Linked DNA regions of Homo sapiens: all the other regions are linked to region 6. The links are contacts of gene promoters, found by promoter capture Hi-C in blood cells and fetal thymus (Javierre and others, 2016). All regions are on one chromosome and are shown on one strand. Each heading gives the region's core, a stretch centred on a gene start or on the middle of the fragment in contact. The rest is flanking DNA. Distances are from core to core; before and after follow the strand shown.

What was found. The method cuts DNA at HindIII sites, captures the fragments that hold promoters and counts their contacts. A CHiCAGO score of 5 or more calls a contact.
Region 1: a contact is called between a fragment that was not itself captured here and the fragment with the promoter of CNNM4 in region 6, in 4 of 17 cell types (non-activated CD4 T cells, erythroblasts, naive CD8 T cells and 1 more). The highest score is 7.0, in non-activated CD4 T cells.
Region 2: a contact is called between a fragment that was not itself captured here and the fragment with the promoter of CNNM4 in region 6, in 1 of 17 cell types (total CD4 T cells). The highest score is 5.1, in total CD4 T cells.
Region 3: a contact is called between a fragment that was not itself captured here and the fragment with the promoter of CNNM4 in region 6, in 10 of 17 cell types (naive CD8 T cells, naive CD4 T cells, total CD8 T cells and 7 more). The highest score is 12.2, in naive CD8 T cells.
Region 4: a contact is called between a fragment that was not itself captured here and the fragment with the promoter of CNNM4 in region 6, in 1 of 17 cell types (non-activated CD4 T cells). The highest score is 5.0, in non-activated CD4 T cells.
Region 5: a contact is called between a fragment that was not itself captured here and the fragment with the promoter of CNNM4 in region 6, in 1 of 17 cell types (naive CD4 T cells). The highest score is 5.3, in naive CD4 T cells.
Region 7: a fragment that was not itself captured here is called in contact with the fragment with the promoter of CNNM4 in region 6 in 1 of 17 cell types (non-activated CD4 T cells); the score reaches 5.0 in non-activated CD4 T cells.

What each region holds. Positions count from the first base shown.
Region 1 is chr2:96,489,935-96,493,863 of GRCh38, forward strand. No RefSeq gene overlaps it. Among named protein-coding and RNA genes, the nearest start is that of NEURL3, 13 kb to the right of the region's middle. RefSeq lists an enhancer at 3,042-3,701. The HindIII fragment of the contact is 2,542 bases long and covers 344-2,885 here.
Region 2 is chr2:96,427,872-96,431,760 of GRCh38, forward strand. No RefSeq gene overlaps it. Among named protein-coding and RNA genes, the nearest start is that of NEURL3, 76 kb to the right of the region's middle. RefSeq lists an enhancer at 1-784. The HindIII fragment of the contact is 2,155 bases long and covers 1,310-3,464 here.
Region 3 is chr2:96,409,443-96,413,377 of GRCh38, forward strand. No RefSeq gene overlaps it. Among named protein-coding and RNA genes, the nearest start is that of NCAPH, 76 kb to the left of the region's middle. The HindIII fragment of the contact is 4,622 bases long and covers 1-3,935 here.
Region 4 is chr2:96,447,626-96,451,463 of GRCh38, forward strand. No RefSeq gene overlaps it. Among named protein-coding and RNA genes, the nearest start is that of NEURL3, 56 kb to the right of the region's middle. The HindIII fragment of the contact is 1,416 bases long and covers 748-2,163 here.
Region 5 is chr2:96,359,228-96,363,006 of GRCh38, forward strand. NCAPH (non-SMC condensin I complex subunit H) reads left to right here. Exons shown (of 18, transcript NM_015341.5): 11 at 916-1,022; 12 at 1,361-1,483. Among named protein-coding and RNA genes, the nearest start is that of NCAPH, 25 kb to the left of the region's middle. The HindIII fragment of the contact is 7,104 bases long and covers 1-3,779 here.
Region 6 is chr2:96,759,238-96,762,984 of GRCh38, forward strand. CNNM4 (cyclin and CBS domain divalent metal cation transport mediator 4) reads left to right here and starts at 1,665. Exons shown (of 7, transcript NM_020184.4): 1 at 1,665-3,164. The coding sequence starts at 1,763. RefSeq lists enhancers at 1,103-1,152, 1,712-2,301, 2,173-2,422, 2,302-2,890 and silencers at 1,483-1,902, 2,026-2,209. The HindIII fragment of the contact is 3,226 bases long and covers 710-3,747 here.
Region 7 is chr2:97,093,376-97,097,657 of GRCh38, forward strand. FAHD2B (fumarylacetoacetate hydrolase domain containing 2B) reads right to left here and starts at 1,507. Exons shown (of 9, transcript NM_001320848.2): 1 at 1,326-1,507. The HindIII fragment of the contact is 5,521 bases long and covers 1-4,282 here.

The sequences.
Region 1 (3,929 bases), core at 365-2,864, 270 kb before region 6:
TTCATATCCTCACAACCACTTGTTATCTTTTGACTTTCTGACATTAGACATTCTAACAGGTGTGAGGTGATATCTCATTGTGGATTTTATTTGCAGTTTTCTTGATGATTAGTGATATTGAACACCTTTTAATATACGTATTGGCCATTGTTATGTCTTCTTTGGAGAAATGTCTATTCAGGTCTTTTGCCCAGTTTTAAATCAGGTTATTTGTTTTTCTAATATTGAGTCATATGAGTCCCTTATATATTTTGGATATTAACCCCTTATTGTATACAAAATATTGCAAATATTTTCTACTGTGGCCTTTTCAGTTTGTTGATTGTTTCCTTTGCTATGCAGAAGCTTTTTAGTTTGATGCAGTCCCACTTGTTTTTGCTTTTGTTACTCATGCTTTAGATGTCATATCCAAAAAATCATTCTTCTAGGAGTTTTACGGTTTCAGGTCTTACATTTAAGTCTAATCCATTTTCAGTAGACTTTTGTGCATAGTGTAAGATAGGGTCCAATTTTATCCTTTTTCATGTGGCTATCCAGTTTTCTCCATACCATTGATTGAAGAGACTGTCGCTTCCCTATTCTGTATTCTTGGTGCTTTGTTGAAGATAAGTTGATCATATATGCATGGGTTTATTTCTAGGATCCTTATTCTGTTTTATGGATCTATTTTTCTGTTTTTATGCCAGTACCATACTGTATTGATTACTATAGCTTTGTAGTATAATTCAAAATCAGAAAGTGTGTTGTCTCAGCAGGTGCAGTGGCTTGCACCTGCAATCCCAGCTATTCAGAAGGCTGAAGTCAGAGGATCACTTGAGGTTAAGAGTTTGAGACCAGCCTAGGCAACATATTGAGACTCAGTCTCTACAAATAAAAATAAAAAATAAAACAAAATAAGAAGCCAGGCATGGTAGCACATGCCTGGAGTACCAGCTGCTTGGGAGGCTGAGGCAAGAGGATAGCTGGAGCCCAGGAATTTGAGGCTGCAGTGAGCTACGATTGTGCCAGCCTGGATGACAGGGCTAGACTATATACATTTTTAAAAATCCTTTTATCCAATTTCCTGACTTTTGTTGGGATGCAGGAATTGAAGTTCTATTATTTTCACATGATTTGGAATTTATATATTTTATTTGTAGTTCTACATTTTGTTTGTATGTTCTTTACCATACAAATTAAACTTATTTTTTTCTCATTTATATTGTTAAAAATAACTTCTTCCTAGCCAGGTGTGGTAGCTCACACCTGTAATCCCAGCACTTTGGGAGGCCAAGGCGGGCAAATCACCTGAGGTCAAGAGTTCAAGACCAGCCTGGCCAACATGGTGAAACCTTGTCTACTAAAGATACAAAAATTAGCCAGGCATGGTGGCAGGCACCTATAATCCTAGCTACTCGGGAGGCTGAGGCAGGAGAATTGCTTGAACCCAGGAGGCAGAGGTTGCAGTGAGCCAAGATCATAATGTTACACTCCAGCCTGGGCAACAAGAGCAAGACTCTGTCTCAAAAAAACTAAAAAAATTTTAAAAACCCTCTTCTTGATAAGAAAAGAACCTTAGCATGCTTTTTATTTTTGCCATTCCACCCATGTTGATATCATCTGTGGTTTTCATTTCAAATTATTATTAATTTTTTACAATTAACATTTACTTAGATTCAACTTTTTTTGCTTTTAATGGTTACAATCATACTAATTTTTCTTGTTTTTTCTTTTTTCTGAAGTGATTCTTCTAATAATTTGCCTATAAAGTATCTGTTAAATGATAAACTTTGAGTCTTTTTATATCTGAATATTTCTTCATTTTACGCTCACCTTTGAATGAGAGAGTCGCTGTCTGCAGAATTTTAGATTTCAAAATTATTTCCTCATCAAAATGGGGACTTAAGATCTGTGCATAGGCCAGGCACAGTGGCTCATGCCTATAATCTCAGTACTTTGGGAAACCAACACAAGTGGATCACTTGGGCCCAGGAGTTCAAGACCAGCCTGGGCAATATTGCAAGATCTCATCTGTACTAAATATTAAAAAATTAGTCAGGTGTGGCAGCATGTGCCTGTAGTCCCAGCTTACTCTGAAGGCTGAGGTGGGAGGATCACCTGAGGCCAGGGAGGCGGAGGCTGCAGTGAGCCATGATTGTGCCACTGCACTCCAGCCTGGATGACAGAGTGAGACCTTGTCTCAAAAAGAAAAAAAAAAGATATGTGCATATTATTATAGTAAATATGCTTCAATTAAAGAAAATCCCCCTGAACTTTGAAGATATTGTTCTATTGTCATTCTGTACCAAGTATTGCTGAGAAAAAGCCTACTGATAATGTGATTCTAATACTTTTGTGTGTGATCTGTTTTGGGGTGTTTTTTTTTTCTTCTTGGGTTTTCTGTTTATCCCTGGTACTCTGAAATGTCACCAGTATGTGTCAAAATGAAAGTCTTTTCTTCACTTATTCTGTTTGGCAACTGGGGGGCTTTTTCAATCTGAAAAGCTATGTCTTTCTTCAATTCTGAGAAATTGTTCTTTTATTTTTATTTCTGGTAGAGATGGGAGTCTTATATGTTGGCCAGGCTGGTCTTGAACTCCTGGCCACAAGCGATCCTCCCACCTTGGCCTCCCAAAGTGCTGGGATTATAGGCATGAGCCACCATGCCCAGCTCTAATCTTTCTTTGAGTTTCTCTTTTGTCCATTTTCTCTATTTTTTTCTTCTGGAATTCACATTGGATGGTTATTTGAACTTCATCTATTCTGTTTATTCTCTTTTTATATATTTCATCTCTTGTTAATTTTGGAATGCATTCTGGTTGATTCCAGATCATTAATACATTTTTCAGCTACATACTTTCTGCTACTCACTCTATCAAATAAGTTATTTTAAATTTTAATAGTCAAGCTTCTAATTCCAAAGGTATCTAGATTTTTCAATGCAATATCCTTTCATATGTGATTATAGTTATCCTAAAGCCCAGGTTTGTATGCTTTATTAACCCTATTTTTTCAGGTATGAACTCCTTTTGCTGTCAGTCCTTTCCATCATGATATTCACTTTTTTCAAATATTTGGCTTTTCTTGGCTGTGAGTTCACCTTTGGATCTGAAATTCCTTGTTAGCCTAAGTGGCCTGCTTGCAGACAGGTGCAGGACATGCAGCTATGACTTGGTGTACCTGTGTAAAGTGGAATGAAGGGATGGGATGTGCTGCTGGGCAGCATGAGCCAATGGTGAAACTTCCAGATGTGGAAGCTTCCTGCTATCCTTGGGAGCTGTTAATCTCTGGGGCTTTGTCTTGCCTCACACCCAATTGTTCACCTCTCACTGATCCTGCCCATGGGAAGACACCTCTGTGACTCACTGTGTGGCCTGAGGTGAACATTCCTGGCTGTCTATTCTGTGAGCCTCTACCAGTCACGGTCAGTCGATCATGGACCACCTGCGGTTCCCAGTTCACAAGTCCTGAGTTTGAAGCATTCCTAGAGCTGCTCTCACCTTTTGCGGCAGTCCTCTCCTCTGGCACGGTTTCCATATTTAATCTGATCCCACCTGTTTTCCACCTTTTATTGTGGTTTTAGTTCACCAGATTTTCCCTATATTGTTTTATAGGGAAGAAATATATTTGTTTAAATCATTCTGAGCAATGTATAGAGACTTGGAATAAAAGGAAACAACTACATGTGCTCAGTCTATCATCTTGAAATGGAAGTTGAAAAGCTCTTAGTATAGGCTTTTTTTTTTTTTGACAGAGTCTCACTCTGTCGCCCAGGCTGGAGTGCAGTGGCATGATCTTGGCTCACTGCAACCTCTGCCTCTCAGGTTCAAGCGAGTCTTCTGCCTCAGCTTCCTGAGTAGCTGGGACTACAGGCGTGCGCCACCACGCCTGGCTAATTTTTGTATTTTTAGTAGAGACAGGGTTTCACCATATTGGCCAAGCTGGTCTCA
Region 2 (3,889 bases), core at 1,137-3,636, 330 kb before region 6:
CCTCTAGCAACTAACAGCAACCAGCTGGGGCTGCTACTCAGTGTTGCCTAAAGGCCAAAGGGTGAACAGGGTTGGCTGCCTTGCCTGTGATGGAGGAAAATTCCCTCTTCTCTCTTTTCTGGCCAAAGGTCCCTAATCCCTATGTATGACATGACTGGCAGCGGTAGCTCATTCAGAGTGACTTCACACACATTTTGGGTGACTCATATCCTCTCTTTCTCACTCTAAATTCTCCTGTGGAGTCACCCAGTCATCTTGCTCTGGATGTTGCTAAATCAGGTGATCCCAGACAGCCTCAGAATGGTACATCTTTCTTTACCCACCCCCTCTCCTGGACTGGCACCAAGCCAAGTTGTTCCTTTACCCTTTTTCCTCATACCTGGGTTAATCACCCAGCATAACAGCATACCTGGACTGGCCATCTGGCATAAGGCACCAGCATGAAGAGGTCTTTTCTAATGGGTGGGACACCCCTTTAGAAAGTGCACCTGAGGCCAGGCGAGGTGGCTCACACCTGTAATCTCAGCATTTTGGGAGGCCGAGGCAAGCAGATCACGATGTCAGGAGTTCAAGTCCAGTCTGACCAACATGGTGAAACCCCATCTCTACTAAAGATACAAAAAATTAGCTGAGCGCGGTGGCGTATGCCTGTAACTCTAGCTACTGGGGAGGCTGAGGCAGGAGAATCACTTGAACCCAGGAGGTAGAGGTTGCAGTGAGCTGAGATCCCCCCATTGCACTCCAGCCTGGGTGACAAGGCGAGACTCCATCTCAAAAAAAAAAAAGAAAGAAAAAAAGAAAATGCACCCAAGTCCCTAAGCAGACATGAGTGAAACCCTTTTCCTCAGTGGGATGCCCCAAGAGAATGTGTGGTTCATGTCCCCAGGAGATGTTAGCCCTGAGTGGCTCATTTTCCAGTCCTTCCGTCGGACCCATCTATTCCTTCAAACTCACTTCTAGGCTGCATTCCAAAGCACTGGGACAAATTCAACCCCCAAACCCTCAAAAAGGAAGGTCTAATTTTCTTGTGAAATAAAGCATGGCCCCTCTGCAGAAAATCCTCAAATTAGTCTCCTCAGTCTTTTGTAACCAAGAGCAGAATAAGGAGGACAGGGCTAAGGAGAAAGAAAAATACAGGGACAAAAGGCAAGCTCAACTGTTGGCTGCTGTACAAGCCCCAGCCCCTCCCCATAGCTCTAAGGAAACTTCTCCAGGTAGTTGCCAGGCCACTGGAAGGCAAACTACCCCAATGGGATAAATGGGAAAAAGCTCTACATGGCTCTGCCACAAGCTCAGCCACTGGAAATGAAGCTTCCTTGAGGGCTGAAGTGCCTCCAGGATGGAATTCCAACCCTTGGTGGCCTTGAACTGAAGGGGCTCTCTGCTCCAGCTGCTTCCAAATCAGACACCACCATCAACACAACAAAACCAAGGGCAACTCTGAAGGTGGCAAGTGAAATTATAAATTTCCCTTTTAAGTTCAAAAGCTACTTACTCTGTACTAATCTTCCCTGAACAACTCTCCTCCAAATTCTGTCAGGTAATGAGGGCAAGCAGCACCTGCTCCCTCCCCCAAAAAATTCACACCCCTTTATATTACTTAAGGAACCAACGACCTTTCTCCCAACAGTCCCTATAGTATCTAAATAACCCAAACTCCTTTGGGACAAAAATATACTTTCCAAAATGGGTGCCTGCTTAATATTTACCCAACTTCTGAATTCATCTTTCCCTCTAATAGCCCTATTTCTCCCAGGAATGCCAGCTAAATCTTTAACCAATAACCTTCACCTAGATAGTCTTACCTCCAGGGTTAAAAATAGCCCACACTTATTCAGACAAACCCTAGCAAGAAATCTAACCAAGCAATCTCTAAGGGGGACTAACTTCTACAGTGTGTAGATCACCTCCTCATTTGCTCCCCCTTCACAGAACTCACACAGCAATGTGCAGTACAAACCTTAACTTCTTAACTAAAGGAAAATAATTGTTGTCTAATCCAAAAGCTATTTAAAAGTTATAGTTGTTCTAACATTGGTTCCCTACATTGAAACAAAATTTTCTTAAGGTATTAATGATGGCAGCAGTGGGCCATCTGGAGTTGACACTGCCATCACACAAGCTGCAGCAGGGAGGCATGGCTGGGGCTTCATGCTCAATGAAGCCAGTAAAGTGGGGGACAAGCAGGAGCCCTACCCCTTCTGAGTTGAAGCAGGAGCTCCTTGGATGCAGCTGCAGCCACCCAAGACACAGTTCCAGTTCCAGACATCCCTGTGCTCCCACTCCATGGAGCAAGCAAGAGCCCTGACCCTGGGATACAGCTGCAGCTGCCCAAACTACACCTGTGGACCTAGGCATCCCTGCACTCTTGGGGGCCCAAGAAGGCCCCCACTGCCCTTGCAGGCTTGGAAGTGCCTGCTCCCACTGCCTGGCTTCTCCCTGCTGTCAGTGCCTGCTCCAATCTTGGAGCAAAGTTGGGGCTGAGCCTGGGCATTGTTGCAGCCTGGCTGGGTGTGCACACACTTGGGGCAGTGCTGACACACCAGGCCCCTGTTACCTCAGAACCCTCCAGATTTTGGGTGCGGATGAGCATGGAAGGGAAGCCAAGGCAGGACTGAGGCCAGCTCAGCAGCGCTGGCCTGCAGGCAGCCTTTGGTATGAACAGCCTGGGCACCATGAACCACAGCAGGAGGCAGACAGCCTCCTGGGCAGAAGGGGGCAAGTCCCAATGAAGCCCCACCTTCAGTCCAGGGAGGGCCTGAAGGCTGGAGGCCAGGCTGCCAGTCCCACGGACTGGAGTGGGAACTTACAGTGCCTTTTCCAGGCCTGCCCATGGCCACCCATGGACCAACTGCTGTGCACTTCCTCCCCTGCAGGCCCATAAAATCCCCAGGCTCAGCCAAACTTGGGCAGATATCAGTATGACCAGCTGCAGAGAGGAGCTACCCACTCCAGGGCCTCCTCTCTGCTGAGAGCTGGGGAGATGACGGGATGATCTGCCTGCAGAGAGGAGCAACCCACTCCAGGGCCTCCTCTCTGCTGAGAGCTGCAGAGACAATGGGATGACCTGCCTGCAGAGAGGAACTTCCTATTCCAGGGTCCCCTCTCTGCCAGGAGCTGAACACTAGTGGGGACAGCCTGGTTGCAGAAAGGAGCTGCCCCCTGCTCATGTGGGAGACTGAGTTGTTCTATCACTCAATAAAGCTCCTCTTTGTTTTGCTCACCCTCCACCTGTCTGTGTACCTCATTCTTCCTTGTCACAGGATAAGAACTTGGGACCTGTTGAATGGTGGGGCTAAAAGAGCATTAACACAAACAGGCCTGAGACATGTCCCTTGCTCACCACATCACGGGGAAAGAGAAGGAGAGAAGAGCTGTGGCCCTTTGAGGAGCCCAGACTTGGGAGCTCCCTGAGCCAGGGCTGTGACTCCCTCTTTGGGCCCCTATGGTTCTTGGTGTCTCCAAGCTTCTGGGTGCCACCATGTACCCTGATGCCCACCATGGAAGTTGCCTGCAGTACACCTGGTCCAGCTGTAGCCTCGCGGAGAGCTGGCCCCCATGCTGGCACCTGGAACTGTCCATCCTGTTGCAGTAGCTGGCATGTCTGACTGTGCGCAGTGGCTGGACCCCATTCTCACTCACACACCCCTTGCTGTTCCATGCCTGACTTGCCCTTGGCAGGCGTGGGACCCAGGCCAGTAACATGAGCCGAGTGCAGCCTGCCAGGCCGAGTGACTGGAACAAGCCCAACAGGCCCAAACAAAACTCAGGCAAAGGTGCCACCAGCCACAGAGGTTTCTGGCCAGAAAAAGCAACACCCCAAAGATCCCATAACATTAATCTACTCTTAATAAAATTGCAAGAAATTTTAGTTTTAATTTTATAAATT
Region 3 (3,935 bases), core at 968-3,467, 350 kb before region 6:
TGACCTGCACACCCTACCCCTTATGAGGTCTGCCCGGCTCAGCCTGCTCGCCCTACCCCTGATATTAGTTCCTATGCTTTGTCTAATAAAAAAATCTCCACCAGCTCTTTTTGGAGAGTCAGTCAGGAAATTCTCTCTCTCTCTCTCCCTCTCTCTCTCTCTGTCTCTCTCTCTTTCTGTCGCTCTCTCTGCCTTTCTCTCACTGTCTTTCTGTCTCTCTCTGTCTCTGTCCTTCTGTCTCTTTCTCTGTCTTTCTGTCTTTTTCTCTGTCTCTGTCTCTCTCTGTCTCTCACTCTCTGTCTCTCCGTCACTCTCTCTCTCTGTCTCTCTATCACTCTCTCTCTCTCTCTCTCTCTCTCTCTCCTCTCTAGTGCTGCCTCCCTTATGTCCAGGCATAAGCTCTAATGAAGCCTCGTCTGGGAAAACTCTTTTGGCCTCATGTCAATTTCTTTTACATCCAGAGCCAACAGCCTGTGGTGGGTAATCGTCCCTTCTCTAATTACTTGCCCAGCATCTACCAAGCAGGCCCTGTCAGCGGGAGTCCTGCCTGCACTCCTCCCGGGGCGGATGCTCTCCTCTTGGCTAGCCCAGACAGGTGCCCTTGGGGCTCCCCGCCAGGCAGGCACTGACCTCCCGCGGTCCAGCCACCTCCTGCTCTCAGGGATGCCCCAGCCGGATCTCAGCCCAGCAATCCCGGGTCTCCAGCCTGCCGCTCCACCCTGGGCTGCCTCCTGACTGTTAACACATGACATTGACAGGGACTGTCTCTGTTATGGGTTGAATGTTTGTGTTCCCCCAAAGGAAACGAGAATATTTCACCCCAAAATATACCTCTTTGGCTTATTTTGAGATGGCTATTCAGAGAGGCTGCAAACAGAAGAAGGACTTTGAAAAGCTGCCTTTCGTGAGGGAGAGTTGCACCTGGAGAGAAAATCTATGTTAGTGAAATCAATGCCCAGGCTTTCCCTGAGGACCCTGTAAGCAAGTGGGGTGCAGGGGTGAGGGGGTTGGGGGATCTCAAAGGATTATAGGAATTTAATCAACTTAAGCAATCAGCCTGTTTTGGGTTTTTTTGTTTTGTTTTGTTTTTTGTTTTTTTTGAGACAGAGTCTCGCTCTTTCACTCAGGCTGGAGTGCCAGGCTGGAGTGTGATCTCGGTTCACTGCGAACTCCACCTCCCTGGTTCAAGGATTTCTCCTGCCTCAGCCTCCCGAGTAGCTGGGACTACAGGCTCGTGCTACCACGCCCAGCTAATTTTTGTATTTTTAGTAGAGACAGGGTTTCACCATGTTGACCAGGCTGGTCTTGAACTCCTGACCTCAGGTGATCCACCCACCTTGGCCTCTCAAAGTGTTAGATTACAGGCTTGAACCCCCACGCCCAGCCTATCAGCCTGTTTTACAGCCTCCTGCCCTGCAGCCTGTTTCTTCCAAGCCCTGTTTAGAATGCAGTCACCCACTTGATTCAAACCAGCTCCCAACAGACCCTAGCAACTTACAGATGAACCCAAGTGACCTTTCTTGTTACCATGCTAAAGTCTCCACCCCAGGAAGGGCTGCAGCTCAGCTCCATCACCATCACATGCGACCTATGTGCTGGCATGAGGATCACTGCGTCTGCACCTCTGGGACCCCTCCTCCACATGCGAAGACACATCCTCTCCCCCTCCATCGCCCCATGAAACCCTCCTGTCACTTTCCCTCAGGGGACACTGCCTTGGAGAATACTCCCAGGGTTCTACCTACTTGGGCCAGGTAATAAAACTTTTATTGATCAAAACCTGCATCCTCATGGAGAGTCATTTGTTACTCACCAGGCAAACAAACCCGGTTTTGGGGGTAATGCCTCCCTTATCTGAATCTAGGAAAGATTAACTCAGGAAAATAAACACTGAAGTCTGACACTTTTAAAGGTCTCAGAGAGAATCTTTTACCAAAGGCCACCATCTATTCTTTCTGAGGGCAGCTCTGAGTTTACCTGGGATTTTTTTTTTTTTTTTTTTTTCTCTTTTTCGGGACAGGGTCTTGCTGTGTTGCTCAGGCTGGAGGGCAGTAGTGCAATGAGAGCTCACTGCAGCCTCAAACTCCCAGGCTCTATAGATCCTCCCACCTTAGCCTCCTGAGTAGCTGGGACTACAGGTGCACACCACCATGCCCAGCTAATTTTTAAAAATTATTTTCAGAGATGGTATCTCGCTATGTTGCTAGGGCTGGTCTCAAACTCCTGGGCTCAAGCGATTCTCCTGCCTCAGTCTCCCAAAGTGCTGGGATTACAGGCATTAGCCACAATGTCCGGCTGAGGGATATTTTCATCTGCACCACAAGACAGCCTTTGTTAGACACACTTTCCCATAACCTGTGTCCCTCTATAACCTCAGGATGATGTAAAAACTTCAGTGGCCTGGCCCCTTCTTTGAGTCTTATATTTTGTATGTGTCTCTTCTGTTCATATGCATGTCAATAAATTTGTACATTCACACCAAAAAAATTATATTCCTTTTTTTCCTGTTTTGTTTTTTTTTTTTTTTTTTTTTTTTTTTTCAGACGGAGTCTTGCTCTGTCACCCAGGCTGGAGTGCAGTGGCGCAATCTCGGCTCGGCTCACTGCAACCTCTGCCTCCCCGGTTCAAGTGATTCTCCTGCCTCAGCCTCCCTAGTAGCTAAGATTACACGCCCAGCTAATTTTTGTATTTATAGTAAAGATGGGGTTTCACCATGTTGGCCAGACTGGTCTTGAACTCCTGACCTCAAGTGATCCTCCCTCCTCGGCCTCCCAAAGTGCTGGGATTACAGGCGTGAGCCACTGAGCCCAACCGTTTTTTCCTATTGATCTGTCTTTTGTTACAGAGGTGTCCCAGCTAGGAACTTATGAGGGTTGAGAAAAGAAATTATACATTTTTTTCTCCCCTTCACCTCCAAATTCCTATGTTGATGCCCTCACCACCAATGTGACTACATTGGGAGATAGGGCCTATAAGGAAGCAATAAGGGTTAAACGAGGTGAGGTCGAGGGTGGGACCCTGTTCTGCAGGATTAGTGACCTTGTAAGAAGAGACACCACGGCTGGGCACGGTGGTTCACGTCTTTATTCCAACACTTTGGGAGGCCAAGGGAGGAGGATCGCTTGAGTTCAGGAGTTTAAGACAAGCCTGGGCACCATGCTGAAACTTCATCTCTACTAAAAAGTACAAAAATTAGCTGGGTGTGGTGGCATGCACCTGTAACCCCAGCTAGTCAAGAGTCTGAGGCACGAATATCGCTTGAACCTGGGAGGCAGAGGCTGCAGTGAGCTGAGATCGCACCACTGTGTCAGAGGCGTGTTAACCAGAGCAACTCCATCTTGACTAAGAGCTGGGTAAAATGAGGCAGAACCCTACTGGGCTGCATTCCCAGGCAGTTAAGGCATTCTAAGTCACAGGATGAGATAGGCGGTCAGCACAAGATACAGGTCATGAAGACCTTGCCGATAAAACAGTTTGCAGAAAAGAAGCTGGCTAAATCCTACCAAAACCAAGATAGCCACAAGAGTGACCTCTGGTCGTCCTCACTGCTACACTCCCGCCAGTGCCATGACAGTTTACAGATGCCATGGCAACATCAGGAAGTTACCCGATATGATCTAAAAAGGAGAGGCATGAATAATCCACCCCTTGTCTAGCATATCATCAAGAAATAACCATAAAAATGGGCAACCAGGAGCCCTTGGGGCTGCCCTGTCTATGGAGTAGCCATTCTTTTATTCCTTTACTTTCGTAGTAAACTTGCTTTCACTTTGCACTGAAGACTCGCCCTGAATTCTTTCTTGCACGAGATCCAAGAACCCTCTCTTGGGGTCTGGATCAGGACCCCTTTCCTGTAACAACTGCACTCAAGCCTGGGTGATGAAGCAAGACCCTGTCTCTAAATAAATAAATAAGAAGGAAAAAAGAATAAGCTC
Region 4 (3,838 bases), core at 206-2,705, 310 kb before region 6:
AATCACTTGAACCCAGGAGGTGGAGGTTGCAGTGAGCCAAGATCGCACCACTGCACTCCAGCCTGGGTGACAGAGCGAGACTCCCTCTCAAAAAGAAAAAAATCATACATAGTGTATTTTTTTTATATCAGACCTTGTAATTTTCATCTATAGATGTACAGTTTACATTCTTTCTGTGCCTTCCATATTTCCACTTAACAGGATCAGTCTTCCTTCTTCCTTTTTGTACCTGTGGAATACAGTGATAATTATAGTTTTTAAAGTTGCTTTCTACTAGTTGCATCATCTGTGTCATTTCTTGATTAGTTTTGATTGAGCAATTTTTCTGTTGATTAGGAGTATAACATTAAGTAACTCAAGCTTAAAATAATTCAAACTTAAAGCTATTGGAACTTTAAATTATCCTGAGCCTTGCAGGCCTTTGGCTACACAGCCTCAGTGAGGCAGTATGCAGCTGCAACTCCTGCCTTTTTTTCCCTCTGTAAGTAATTAAGACCAAACGGCACCAGAAATCAGACCCCGTCAAATCACTCCTCCCCGTCATGGAGTAATGAAGAATCTTCCTTGGAATGTAGCAATCTGCACCAATCAAATCACTGTGGCATCTGTACCTGGTCTCGTATGGAAACTGCAATCCTGCTGGAGCTTTTCTGTCTCTGTCCACTTAAGCAAAACTGTAACTCTTCCACTTTGGAAACACTGACTCCTTTTGTGTGGAGTTGGTGCTTTCCTGGGTGGATATCCTCAAGCTTTGCTCTTGAATAAACTCTGCACTTAATTAGATTCTGTAAATCTCATTATTTAAGATCGACAGAAGTCATATTTTTATTGTTTCTTTTTGTGCCTGATAAATTGTGATTGGATGATAGACATTTTGAATCTCACGTTGCTAGTGGCTGGATTTGTTCATATTCCTTTATTTTATTTTTAAATTGTTATGTTTTAAAATCTCTAGCCCTGGTTGAGCGTGGTGGCTCACGCCTGTAATCCCAGCACTTTGGGAGGCCAAGGTAGGCAGATCACGAGGTCAAGAGATTGAAACCATGCTGGCCAAAATGGTGAAACCCTGTCTCTACTAAAAATACAAAAGTTAGCTGGGCGTGGTGGTGCATGCCTGTGGTCTCAGCTCCTTGGGAGGCTGAGGCAGAAGAATCGCTTGAACCAGGGAGACTGAGGTTGCAGTGAGCTGAGACTGCACCACTGCACTCCAGCCTGGGCATGCAGCCAGACTCCGTCTCAAAAAATAAATAAATAAATAAATAAAATAAAATAAAATAAAATAAAATCTCTAGCCCTATATTATAACACATTCCTTTAAATATTCTCCCATTGTGTTTTGGGATGCACACAAGTAACATGGAAACAGTTGTTTTTTTCCTTTTATGCTTGATTAAGTGTGGCCAGCAGCTTTTAGTCTAGGTCTAATTTTGCCCCACTCAGTTAAAGACCTTCTGAATAATTTACCCAATCCCTCATGAATTATGAAGTTTTATATTCTTGCTGGTGGGAACTGAAACTCTTTCTGACTATATTATCCCAGGACTGTTTCCTGTAATCCTTTCTGGTGGTTCTTTCTAACACTTTTGGAGAGAAGAAAGCTATACATGAAATTACAATTACACATGTAAATTTCTTACATGCACGCACTGACCAGTGCTCAGACCTCCAGAGCTCTATGTCTTTCTCCCTTCCTACTCTGTCCTGTGAATTCCAATCTGCTCAGATTCCCAGCTCAGTCCTCTCAATTCTAGGAGCCTTGGATCCTATCTGGCTTCCTCCTTCCTGCATGAGGCCTGGAAACTCCGGGCAGTCAGCAGGTCAATCACAGGGCTCATATCTTTTATTTTTTATCTTTCAGGGATGACTGTCTTTGTTGTCTGATGTCCAACATCTTCCAAGCCTTTGTTATCTGTATTTTTGTAACCACAGGACCAGTTCTAATGCCCTATGTGGTCTCCCAACTGCAGGGACATTTCTAGCTAGCCCTATTGTGTTGATAACAGGTTGTCAAGTTACTTTACAAGCACAGAGTCAAGAAAGTGCACATCATGCAGCCAGAGTGCGGGCAGAAAAGGAGACTTCAACCTCAACACCCAGAACTAAAGCCTGGCCACACTCCCTAGAAACCATAGATCAGGACATAGTTGGAACCCCAACATGGAAAGCTTTGAAAAGCGAGCGGTCCATCAGAGCCCAGGAATGTCTGGTGATAAGACCTCTCCTCGTGCCTTCCCATAAATAGTCTTGTTTGAAGTCTTTCCAATCAAAACCTGCCCTGCCAGTGCTTCTGCATACCAACCTGTCCTCTGTAGTCCACGAAAGCTGCCCCAAACCACAAACTGGGGAGACCAACTTGAGCCCATCTACTATCTCCTTGCTCAGCTGCCTTCCGATAAACCTTTCTCTCTAAAAAATCTGATGCTTTGGTGCTGGGCTTTCCATTGCAAATGAGCAAATGGAGCCCGTTCAGTTCTGCAATATTTTGAATATTTTGTCTCTTTTTTGTTTGTTTGTTTGTTTGTTTGTTTACATTGTTTCTGGAGGGAGGGTAATCTAGTCCCTGTTATTCCATTTTGGAAGCATAAGTCTCCACTGGTTGATGTTAACCAAGCCAACTAAATTTGCTAGAAAATGATTCCAAGTACAAATGAGTAGTCCTATCGGTCATGGAGGCCCCCTGTGCTGGAAAACACTGCCTCCAAGAGGGCTTCCTTCTGCTTAGTCTCCAGCCACTGCCCCCTTGAAGTTCAATTTCAAGGTCTCAGTGATGTCAGTGTTCCAAACTCAGAAATGAATCTACTGAGTAGCCAGCCATAGCTACCACTAGTTTGGCTTGATTCTATGCCTGGTCTTAGAGTGTTCACATGTATTAGCTCATTGTTTTAGTCTGTTTTATGTTGCTATAAAGGAATACCTGAGACTTGGTGATTTGTAAAGAAAAGAGGTTTATTTGGCAGATGGTTCTGCAGGCTGTACAAGCATGGCATCAGCATCTGCTTGGCTTCTGGTGTGGCTTCAGGAAGCTTTTACTCATAGTGGAAAGTGAAGGGGAGCAGGAGTGTCACATGGCAAGAGAGAGAGCAAAAAAGAGAAAGGAGGTGCTAAGCTCCTTTAAACCACCAGCCCTCACGTGAACTAATAGAGAACCCACTCATCACCAAGAGGATGGCACCAAGCCATTCTTGAGGGATCCGCCCCCATGACCCAACATCTCCCACCAGGCCCCACGTCCAGCATTGGAGATCACATTTCAACATGAGAGCTGCAGGGACAAATATCCAAACTATATCACTCATGAACTCTCACAATATCCTCAAGATGCAGATACTGTTATGTATTTATTTTCAACTGAGAACACTGAGCCTCAGAGGGGCTAAGTAACATGATGGAGGTTACATGGCTAGCAACCCCAGATCTGCCACTTCCTAGCTATGTGCCCTTCACTGCAACAAGGTGTGCATGTCATAGGGTTGTGAGGACAAGGTTAATTCAGTGCTTAACTCATAGTTGGTGCTCAGTAAATGCTAGTTATATCATTACTGCATGTGGCTGCAAGATCAAGTCCATTAGGTAGACTGTTAGAGCAGGGGACTTTTGGACTATCTGTGCCAAGGAGTCCTAATGAGACTTGCAGCCTGGGAAGGTCATTTTCCTCTGGGAACCTTCCACTGGGCTCTAAAGACCACCTTCGGTTTGCACCCTTTCACTCCCTCCTCACCCTCATGCTCCTAAGAGCTCACCCTCCCAGCCTCAGCCCAGAGCCCAGAGTGTGCTACTCCCCATCACCTCAGTCCACTGCTCCTGGGCCTGACAACCTTGGCCTCACCTTCTGGAACAG
Region 5 (3,779 bases), core at 1,034-3,533, 400 kb before region 6:
GTAGTGTAGATGACCAGCCAGTCAGCAGTTAGCCAAGGAAAAGAAATGCCAGTCACAGCCCTGTTGTGTCTCTTAATAAGCCGAGGAAGCATACAGATGAGCCAGCCTCCTGGTTGGTCAGTTTGCCTGGCCTGGGATGAAGGGACAGTGAAAATGGAAGCCTCTGAGTGAGGAGAGTGAGTACTGGAGTCAGGAGAACTGGACTCCCAGCCTCACACTGCTCCCTAGTATCCACATGACTTCACTCAGTGGTCACGGGTGGGCATGACCCCCGGGCACTAGAGGGCACACAGGAGCTACTGCACATGTTGGCATTCTGTAGAACTCCAAAGGGCTGTGCTGACCTTATGTGTTTTGCATTGTCTCTTTGAAAGAAAGGGATAAGCATCTGTTGTTTTATGTTTTGTTTTGCTTTTGAGACAGGGTCTCACACTGTCACCCAGGCTGAAGTGCAGTGGTGAATCATGGCTTACTGCAGCCTTGACCTCCTGGGCTTAAGCGTCCTCCCACCTCAGCCTTCTGAATAGCTGGGACTGCAAGGGCATGCCAGCATGCTCAGTTAATTTTTAAATTTTCCATAGTGATGGGATCCCGCTTTGTTGCCTAGGCTGGTCTCGACTCCTGGCCTCAAGTGATCCTCCTGCCTTAGCCTCCCAAAGTGTTGGGATTACAGGCATGAGCCACTGCACCTGGCCAAGCATATGTTTCTGATGTGTTTTCTTAGCCAAAACACAAATTATAAGTTTAGGATGAAAAGAGGGTGTGTGATTGAGCACTCCTACTGTTGTGATGCTCAGACACAATGCTGCCTTGTGGTTTTGATAAGCCTTGATAAGGCTGTCAGCAGATCTTGTGAAATGAGTAAATAGTTTAGGCCACAGAAGTGAAGTGCTGACGTCTGTGTTCACTCTGCAGAAGATGCTCCTTCCCAATCAGAAAACAAAAAGAAGAGTACAAAAAAAGATTTTGAAATTGACTTTGAAGATGATATTGACTTTGATGTATATTTTAGAAAAACAAAGGTTTGTACTGAATTTATTAGGATTGTGCTTACTCGTTTTTCCCTTTCAGATGTGATTTTTTAAAATTCCGTATAAATTTAACTGTTAGAGCAAACAGATGGTTTCATTCTTCCTTGTTCCTTAAACGCACTATTAAGAAATAGTCCTAAACTCAGTGGCAGAAAGAATCAAATTTAGAATAAAAAGAATAATGCTAGCAAAATCACTTTTTTACATAGAACTGTGAGACTGATGGTAGACTCATGCTGCCCAAACCCTTCCCAGACTGCTTTAAAAAAAGTAAGATGTTTTGCCCACTGTTAAAATGCCTAAAACACTTTTTTTAAAAAAATTAATAGGCTGCTACTATTCTGACCAAGTCCACTTTGGAGAACCAGAATTGGAGAGCTACCACCCTTCCTACAGATTTCAACTACAATGTTGACACTCTGGTCCAGCTTCACCTCAAACCAGGCACCAGGGTAAGCCTATTTCTTGGTTCCTTTAAGCACACAAGGTATCAAGTGGCTGATAGTATGACAGTTAGGCAGTGCCTTTGAGGAAAAGGGAGAATGTGAGGAGTGGTATGTGTTAGCCAAAGCGTGTTGCCAGGAAATCAAATAGATAAGGCAAAGAAAGCTAAAAGGAAAGGCTTATATGATGGACACACAGTAAACACTTGGAAATACCTTACCTGGCAAGAATGCTGGATACTGAAGCCTCCATGCTGAAATTCAGGGGGGCAGTGAGTGTAGTTTTTTGGTGAAGTTTCAACAGTTTTTAAGTTATTTCTTGATTCCTTTGCTTTCTCCTTTTTTTTTTTTTTTTTTTTTTTTTTGACAGAGTTTCGCTCTTGTTGCCCTAGGCTGGAGTGCAATGGTGCAGTCTTGGCTCACTGCAACCTCTCCCTCCTGGGTTCAAGCAATTCTCCTGCCTCAGCCTCCCAAGTAACTGGGATTACAGGTGCCTGCCACCATACCCAGTGAATTTTTTGTAGTTTTAACAGGGACAGGGTTTCACTATGTTGGCCAGGCTAGTCTCGAACTCCTGACCTCAGGCGATCCACCCACCTCAGCCTCCCAAAGTGCCAGGATTATAGGTGTGAGCCACTGTGCCCACCTGATTCCTTGGCTTTCTCATTGAAGTTGTGGATTTACTCACCAATTGCTTTATACAGTGAGGTTGCCTTACTCATGATCCAAGTCGAAGCGAGCCCAAGGTGACACACGGGCTCACATCCTCAGGAAGTCTCCTAGGGCTCTACAGGCTGCTGGGGCTCCTTCTGAGATTGTCACATGGAGCCTTCTGAATTACCTGGTGTTGCACCCTGATTACTGCCTCCTTCATTTGCCTGGGGCTCTTCTCACATGTCCCTGCTGACAGGGTAAGCAGTGGTTCGTGTAAACCATTCCATTCACATCCTCTGCTTACTTGCATTACTGGTTCTCCTACTCTCATGGAGTGTATTAAGACTTTATACTTTCCTCTTTATTTTGCCTGTTTTTCCACAAGATTTTAATGATATATATATATATATATACATATATATATATACACATATATATGTATATATATGTGTATATATATATATATATATATATTTTTTTTTTTTTTTCCCTGAATTGACTGATATTACACATTCTATTTGTTTTTTTGTATTTTTTTTTAGAGACAGGGTCTTGCTCTGTTGCCCAGGCCATAGTCCAGTGGTGTAATTGGAGCTCATTGTAACTTTGAACTCCTGGATTCAAGCAGTCATCCTGCCTCAGCCTCCCAAAGTACAGGGATTACAGGCGTGAGCCGTTACACCTGGCCTCACATTCTGTTTTTATAAACTAACCAAGATATGTTTTTCTTTCTGATCAATATTGTTTACTTCAATAGAAATACTCTTTTTTTTTCAGTCCTAGCTACTTGGGGGCCTGAGGCTATAGTAAGCTATGATCATGCCAGTGCACTCCAGCCTGGGGGACAAAGTGAGGCCTCATCTCAGAAAAGCAAAACAAAAAAAAAATTGTGATTCATGAGAGGGGGTCAAAATATCAACATTAACAGGAGTTTGGAAGAAGTTGATTCTGACTCTTATGGATGATTTTGAGGGGTTCAAGACTTCAGTGGAGGCCAGTCACGATGGCTCACGCCTGTAATCCTAGCACTTTGGGAGGCCGAGGTGGGTGGATCGCTTGAGGCTAGGAGTTTGAGACCAGCCTGAGCAACATGGCGAAACCCCGTCTCTACTAAAAATACAAAAATTAGCCAGACATGGTAGTGCAGGCCTATAGTCCTGGCTACTCAGGAGGGTGAGGCACGAGAATCACTGGAACCCAAGAGGTGGAGGTTGCAGTGAACTGAGATTACAGTACACTGCACTCCAGCCTGGGTGACAGAGCAAGACTCTGTCTCAAAAAGACTTCAGTGGAGGAAGTCATTGCAGATGTGGTATGCAGATGTGGTAGAAATAGCAAGAGAACCAGAATGAGAAATGGAGCCTGATGATGTGACTACATTGGTACAATATCCTGATAAAACTTGAATGGATGAGAAGTTGTTTCCTATGGATGAGCAAAGAACATTTTCTTGAGATGGAATTTACTCCTGGTGAAGATGCTGTGAACATTGTTGAAATGATAAAAAAAAAAGATTTAGAATGTTACATAGTCTTAGTTGATATAGCAGTGGCAGTGTTTGAAAAGATTGACTTTGAATTTGAAAGAAGCTCCGCTATGGATAAAATGCTATCAAACAGCATTGTATGCTTCAGAGAAATCTTTAGTGACA
Region 6 (3,747 bases), core at 415-2,914:
TGTCTCAGCCAGTGCCCATTCCAAGGCTCCTATTCCTCGAAAAAACTGACCTGCTGGGCACTCACTGCAAAGTATCCGCTATGAGTGGGGCCCCTACTAGCAACATACTTCTCCAGGCTGGCCTAGTTTACAGAACCCTCAATCCCAGCTAACAGGGCTTTCTTGAGTCAGGGCCTCTCTGCTACCACACCTCCTCCCACAACATTGTGTGATCCTTTCTGTTTAGGCTCCTTCCGTTTGGTACTGATTGCTGCTTTTATTAGCAAACATTACACCAAAATGAAAATAAATACAAGTGTCAGTGCGGGAAGGGAGTAAAGTGGGTTCTGTGTCTTCAGTACTGGCAAAAGATTTGCTGTGAGACCTGGTGGTCAACCCAGTACCTGATCTTCTCTGTGCACCTGTGCAATTATTGTAAGGATGTTTATCTGTCTGTCTTCTTCCCCCTCACAGGGCGGGCAGCTGTGGTCTTCCTTATACACCCTACTGACACAGGGCTAGGGCCATTCAGGAAGCAGTCATTTCAGGGATAGGCCCACTGCCGCGCCTGCCTGCTCATGTCCACAAGCAGCTGCCCAGCTGATCAATCACCACAATTTGGGGTTAGGAGTTTGGTCCTGGAAGGCAGGTAGCAACAACTACTACCTAGCCAAAGAATATTCTAAAGAGCTGTCCTGTCATGTTCAATGTCTAGGTCCACAATCCCGCAAGCTTAGCGAAGTAATGCTCTGTCATTCTTACCCCCATTTACAGATGGAGAAATGGGCTGGGAGATGACAGTATGGAGGCACCAGGATTTTTGTCTCGGCTCAATTTCTGCATCTCTAAATGGAAATAATTCTACTAACTCTGAGGGTTGTTGGGGGGATTTAATGAATATATGTGTTTACTTGTTTATCTCCTGTTTTCTGTTCTAGACTGTAAACCCCAATGGGCAGCGACTTTGGCTTGTTCACTGCTCTATTGTCAGAGCCTAGAACAAGTGCCTGGTACAAAGTAGGTGTTCAATAAATATCTATGCCTAAATGGAAGAGACAGGAGAGAAGTCTAGGCCAGAGCCTGCCCCTTCTATAACCTTAGTTCCCCAGATTTGCCTTCCACATCAGGCAGCCACTGGTTGATGGAAGCATCGTCGGGCTGGGGCTGGGGCTGGGGTAACCTACTTCTGGCCTTAGGACAAGGTCGGCAAAAATCTCAGCAGTGAGGAGGCCAGAAAAGTCTCCAAGGGGCAGGCTGCAATGCCAGCCTAAGCCCTCAGGTTTCCTTTTTCTTTTTCTACATCAGGAAAAGCACTTTTCTCGCCCTGCCTGCAGAGCGGGCCACCCCTAGCTGCAGGTGAGGGACGGGAGAGGAGCCTCCCACGTGCGGCCGTGCGAGGCCGAGGAACAGGAACGGCGTAGCTAGGAGACCAGGTCCCGGAGAAGGAGAGCTGGCCCCACTGGCAGAGAAAGGCGGGGAAGGGCGCGGAGGCGGAGCACTGGGCGGGTACCCGCTGGCGGCTCTCGCGCGGCGGCGCTGCTCCACCTTAAGCGACTGTACCCCCTTAAGGGCGGGCGCTCAAGCAGCGAGCCCCGGGGGCGGGGCCTCCAATGCAAATGAGGGGCGTGGGCAGGCGGGGCGGGGCGGGCGGGGCGCTGACCTGACGTCAGGCTCGCGGCCCGGGCAGTTGGCTCGGCGGCAGCGGAGCGGCCGGAGCTGCGGTGCGGACCGGGGCCGCGCGGCGTGGCGCGGGGAGCGGCGGCGGCGGCAGAGCCAGAGCAACATGGCGCCGGTGGGCGGGGGCGGGCGCCCGGTCGGCGGACCGGCCCGCGGGCGCCTCCTCCTGGCGGCGCCGGTGCTGCTGGTGCTGCTGTGGGCGCTGGGGGCCCGGGGCCAGGGCAGCCCCCAGCAGGGCACGATCGTGGGCATGAGGCTGGCGAGCTGCAACAAGTCGTGTGGGACGAACCCGGATGGCATCATCTTCGTGTCCGAGGGCAGCACCGTGAACCTGAGGCTGTACGGCTACAGCCTGGGCAACATCTCCAGCAACCTGATCTCCTTCACCGAGGTGGACGATGCCGAGACCCTCCACAAGTCCACCAGCTGCCTCGAGCTCACCAAGGACCTGGTCGTCCAGCAGCTGGTCAACGTGAGCCGCGGGAACACGTCCGGCGTGCTGGTGGTGCTCACCAAGTTCCTCCGGAGGAGCGAGAGCATGAAGCTGTATGCACTGTGCACCCGGGCCCAGCCCGACGGGCCCTGGCTGAAGTGGACGGACAAGGACTCACTGCTCTTCATGGTGGAGGAGCCTGGGAGGTTCCTGCCTCTCTGGCTGCACATTCTCCTAATTACGGTGCTGCTGGTGCTGTCGGGCATATTTTCTGGCCTCAACCTCGGGCTTATGGCCCTGGACCCCATGGAGCTGCGCATCGTGCAGAACTGTGGCACCGAGAAGGAGAGGCGCTATGCCCGCAAGATTGAGCCCATCCGGCGCAAGGGCAACTACCTTCTCTGCTCGTTGCTCCTAGGGAACGTGCTGGTCAACACCTCCCTCACAATCCTTCTAGACAACCTCATCGGGTCCGGCCTCATGGCGGTGGCCTCCTCCACCATTGGCATTGTCATCTTTGGGGAGATCCTACCTCAGGCCCTGTGCTCCCGACATGGGCTGGCTGTGGGTGCCAACACCATCCTTCTCACCAAATTCTTTATGCTACTCACCTTCCCCCTCAGTTTTCCCATTAGCAAGCTCCTGGACTTTTTTCTGGGCCAGGAGATTCGCACTGTTTACAACCGGGAGAAGCTGATGGAGATGTTGAAGGTGACGGAGCCCTATAATGACCTCGTGAAAGAGGAGCTCAATATGATCCAGGGTGCCCTGGAACTACGGACCAAAACTGTAGAGGATATCATGACCCAGCTCCAGGACTGCTTCATGATCCGCAGCGATGCCATCCTGGACTTCAACACCATGTCGGAGATAATGGAAAGCGGCTATACTCGCATCCCGGTGTTCGAAGACGAGCAGTCCAATATTGTAGATATTCTCTACGTCAAAGACTTGGCCTTTGTGGACCCCGATGACTGCACCCCCCTCAAGACTATCACTCGCTTCTATAACCACCCGGTGCACTTTGTCTTCCATGACACCAAGTTGGATGCCATGCTGGAGGAGTTCAAGAAGGGTAAGGCCAGATGTAGTTCCCCTGGTTCAATTTCCTCTTGACGCCTCTTTTCCCCTGGCGTGTTTTGTGTCTGCTGGCTTTAGTGTTCTGTTTGTGTGACTCTGTGTCCCTTTGCCTATCGCTTCCTATGCTTCTGAGGTGAACGATTTTGGAGCGGTAGACCCATTCTCAAGTGTCTGCCGTCTGCCAGGTAGTGTGCTGTGTGCTCCTGATGAATCAAAGCTGAATAAGACATACTCGCTCCCTTGGAGGGCTGGAGCAAGACCTCAGGGAGCTATTGAAGCAAGACAGAGTAAGACAGATGCCTGAAAAGAGGCCAGGGCGATGGAGATTTAGAGTATGGGGTGGAGTCAGGAAGGGGCTGGGAAATTGGGGAATCCACAGGGGAAGGAGCATTTGAGGAGAATCTTAAAAGGTAGAGAGGCTTGCTGCTTGAGGCAGAGGGAACCCCGCAAGCAGAGAACCGGAGTGGAGAAGCAAAAGTGTGCTTGTGGCCCAGCAGGTGGTCCTGTTTGGTGGGTATAGTGGCTCTGATGCTTAGTGGTCAATGGCTGGAGTAGTTTGGGGCCCGGTGGTGGACGCT
Region 7 (4,282 bases), core at 749-3,248, 330 kb after region 6:
GCACACACTCAGACACTCCACATGCTAACATAACAGTAACTGCTGCCGCTGAATGCCAACTATTAAGTGCTCTACCTACAATGTCTGATTTAATTCTTTTTTTTTTTTTTTTTTTTTGAGATGGAGTCTCGCTCTGTCGCCCAGGCTGGAGTGCAGTGGCGCAATCTTGGCTCACTGCAAGCTCTGCCTCCCGGGTTCATGCCATTCTCCTGCCTCAGCCTCCCCAGCAGCTGGGACTACAGGCGCATGCCGCCACGCCCGGCTAATTTTTGTATTTTTAGTAGAGACGGTGTTTCACTGAGTTAGCCAGGATGGTCTCGATCTCCTGACCTTGTGATCCGCCCACCTCGGCCTCCCAAATTGTTGGTATTACAGGAGTGAGCCACGGCGCCCGGCCTGATTTAATTCTTGACGCTTGTGGAAGGTAGGTACTGTTAGTCCCATTTTACAGATGAAACAGTTAAGGCTTAAAGCGGTTAAGGGATTTGCCCAAGGTTACACAGTCTTAAAGCTAGGAGGGGAGGGAGCTGGGATGTGAATCCAAGTCCAGGTGACATTGAAGTCCTTGGTTCAGAAGCCTGTAATGCAAGCAAGAAAATCTAGCTTCAGCCCCATCTTCCTACCAAGGACATTTTAACCCAGAATGTTGTGGTGAGAAGTGGGGACCTTCCATAGGAAATCCTCCAAAGGCCCTAAAGATTGTAGTGAGAAGTAGGGACCTCCCACAGGAGATCCTCCAGAGGCCCTGCAAACAGCCATGCGTGGGGAAACTACAGGCGCTCTCTGGCTATTGCCTCAGGGACGAGGCTGGTTACCAGCTCTCCAAGAGAACTCCAGGCCCCATTGACTGTTCCCTTCCCACATGACACACACATGCAGGTTCATTCCAACCTTACAGCAATCCCCTCAGGTAAAGCGCCCTCACTTTACAGAAGAGGACACTGAGACTCAAAGGGATGACGTCAGGTGCCCAAGGTACTAGTCAGAAAGTGGCCCTGGGGCTTCTGCAACAACCACTATGTCACACAGTCCGAGCTCAATCCAACTCTGCAAGAGTCCATAAGCAAAGGGGCGGCGACGTGAGGTGGAAACAGTAGCCTGAAACGTGGGTGTGCACGTCGGATCCCATCCCACCGTCCACTCGCCTGGAAACCCCCAGTTTCCCCATATGCCCAGCTTCGTCCCCTGCAATTAGTGAGGGCTCACATGGGTCCGCCCCATCCGTGTGGTCGGAAACGGCCGGGAACCTGGTTCTAGTTCTGCCCTCCGCGGGAGACCTGCGCCAGGGACACCCTTCTGGCCTAACCCAGCCAGGCCTGGTCTACCTGGCGGCGGCGGCGGCGGCAGCCGGTCCTCCTGCGCTGAGTTAGGGCTCGCGGGGCGGGAGGTCAAGGGCAGCGGGCGCCTGAGCACTGGCACCAGTCACCGCATCCAGCCGGGGAACTACAGCAGCGGCGAAGTCACTGCCGCTCGGTGCGCACTCCAGCGAGAAGCGGGCGCGTCCTGTGACGTCACAGGCAACCACCCCTAGCAGGGCACCAATCCCGGAGGGCGGGCCCAGTGCGGGGCGGGCGGCGCCGGGGGCTCTTCAGGCTCAGGGCATAGGCAGGCGGCGGCCGCGTTTTCTGGAGACGGTCGCTCTCGGAGGGACCCTGCAATTGCCCGAGACCGAGAGTGGGCGCTGCCTGAAAGTTTGTCCCTGGGCGCTTCGCTGGCCTCATCCGGTCTCGGCCTTGTTCTGGGCCTGGCGCCTTTCCCATTGTTGGGGAAAGTGGTCTAGGAGACCAAGGCAGCGTGCTGGGTGGGAGAGAATGATTTGTGGCTTCTGATTCTGACATATGTCGTTAAGGAGGGGAGGGATGAGTGACCCTGTTTTACTTATGGAGAACCTGGGGCCAGAGCTGTTTTCCCAGGGTGACACAGGCGGTGAGTAGTGGAGCTGGCATTCCTGACCCCAAAGCTCAGCGTTTCCCAGCCACTCTCCGCAGCCAGGCCTTCACCTGCACTGCTGGGCGCAGGTGGGGAAGTGGGGAAACGGTGCTCCATCCCCTGCAGAGGGCAGGCGTGCGGGGAGCGGTGGCTGAACTCCACAGACAGCTACTGCTCAGCTCTTCAGCTGCCGGCTTTGAAGAGTGTGAGGGGCTCTGGGCAAGAGGCCCCCACATTACTCAAGGACCAGATCATCAAGAGCTTTACTTGTCCCACAAAGGAGTCTGGACCTCGTTTAAGTGCACAGGAGACCGCTGGAAGGTCCTCAGTGGCGTGCCATGGCCCGACTTCTATTTGAGAAGTTTTTCTCTGGCCACCCGTCTAAGGAAAGGTATCTGGGTGGGTGGTGCGGGTGAGAACAATGGTGGTGCGGTGCTTGGCGGAGAAGGTGAGTGTCCAGAGATGTTCAGGAAGAAGAACTGACAGCTCTGGATGACAGGAGGTGGAAGTGAGAAGGAAGCAGGTACAAGGCCGGCTCCTGGGTCTCTAGCCCGGTAGGTGCAGGGCCGTTCATGGAGACAGGGCTTCTGGAGGAGCAGCGGGTCTGGGGAGATGATAGTGAGCTCCAATTTGCATGGGACATCCAAAGGGCATTGAACGGTGGGCAGTTGGAGACGTGGGTCTGGAGCTTGGGACTTCAGCCTAGCTTGCAGAAAGTCACCACTGATATAGAAATGGAACCTATGGCCGGGTGCGGTGGCTCACACCTGTAATCCCAGCACTTTGGGAGGCCAAGGTGGGCGAATCAGATCAGGAGATCGAGACCATCCCGGCCAACATTATGAAACGCCGTCTCCACTAAATATACAAAAAATTAGCCGGGCGTGTTGGCGGGCGCCTGTAGTCCCAGCTATTCGGGAGGCTGAGGCAGGAGAATGGCCTGAACCCGGGAGGCAGAGCTTGCAGTGAGCCCAGATCACACCACTGGGGAACAGAGCGAGACTCTGTCTCAAAAAAAAAAAAAAAAAAAAAAAGAAATGGAGCCTATGGGGGTGGCTGTGATCAGGGGGATGTGCTGAGGAGAACCTGGCGTAAGTGTTTCATTAAGCCATAGCTCCCAAAGACTTTCTGAAAAGCTAAGTTACAGCCTGAAAGAAAAGATCTTCAGAGGCTATATTTGATAAAAGACTTGTATCCAGAATATAGAAAGAGCACTTAAAATCAATAGATAAAATCAAACAATTCAATTTTTTAAATGGACAAAATATTTAAACAGACACTTCACCAAAGAAGATATACAGATAGAAAATTGAAAGACATGAAAAGATGCTCAACATCATTAATAATTAAGGATATGCAAATTACAAGCACAGTGTGACACCGTCTCACACCTACTAGAATGGACAAAGAAGACTGATTATACCAAGTATTCGAAAGAATGTGGAGGACCTGGGATTCTTGTACACTGCTTATGGGATTATAAAATAGTATCACTACAATTGAAAATCATTTGGCAGTGTATGAAGAGAGTTAAACATACTCCTACCATATGACCTAGCCATTTCAATCCTAACTATTGACAGTATTGAGTTGCACCTTAGCCCTTTGCTCCTAGAAATAGTGAAGATTAAGGAATCCCTCCACTCCTTTGTTCCAGAAAACACCCTACTGGAAAGAACCAGTGACTTTCCATATAGCTTGGATAAGAATCCTGAATGTCCCCTCATGACCAGACCATACACAGACCCTCTAAATTCCCATTCTTGGCATCATAAATGATTAGCTGGACTGCTTGTTCCCACAGATCAATAAGAACAAAATGCCTGTAACCAAACCTTGGTTCAGATTCTCTCCTTCTCCAAGCCCCTGAGCTTTGGCCCACCCGCAGCTTGTGCCAACCCACCGCCCTCCTGAGGGTCCCTCCTGAGAACAGGCTATCTGCATGGTAAGACCTGCTCGATCATGACACTCTTGCTCAGCTCACTTTCCCATAACAGTTCTTTCTAGCCACGTTTACGCCTCCCTATACAAGGTCAGCCCTTTGCCTAACCTCTGAGACACTTGAGGATCACATCGTCAGACTGTCTCCTTATTGTAATAGTCCCCCCCCCAACCCCCACAACAATCCTTTTGAATAAATTCTCTTTTTATGGAATCCAGATTTATATTTTTGTTTGATAGTAATTACATGAGAAATAAGAAAAATATGCTCATGCAAAGATGTATTCAGAAGTGTTCACAGCAGGCTTTTTGTAAAATCCCCAAACTGGAAACCACCCAATTTTCCATTAACAGGTGAATGTGTAAACACTCTGTGTTTAGCCACACTAGGGAATACTACTTAGCAAGAAAA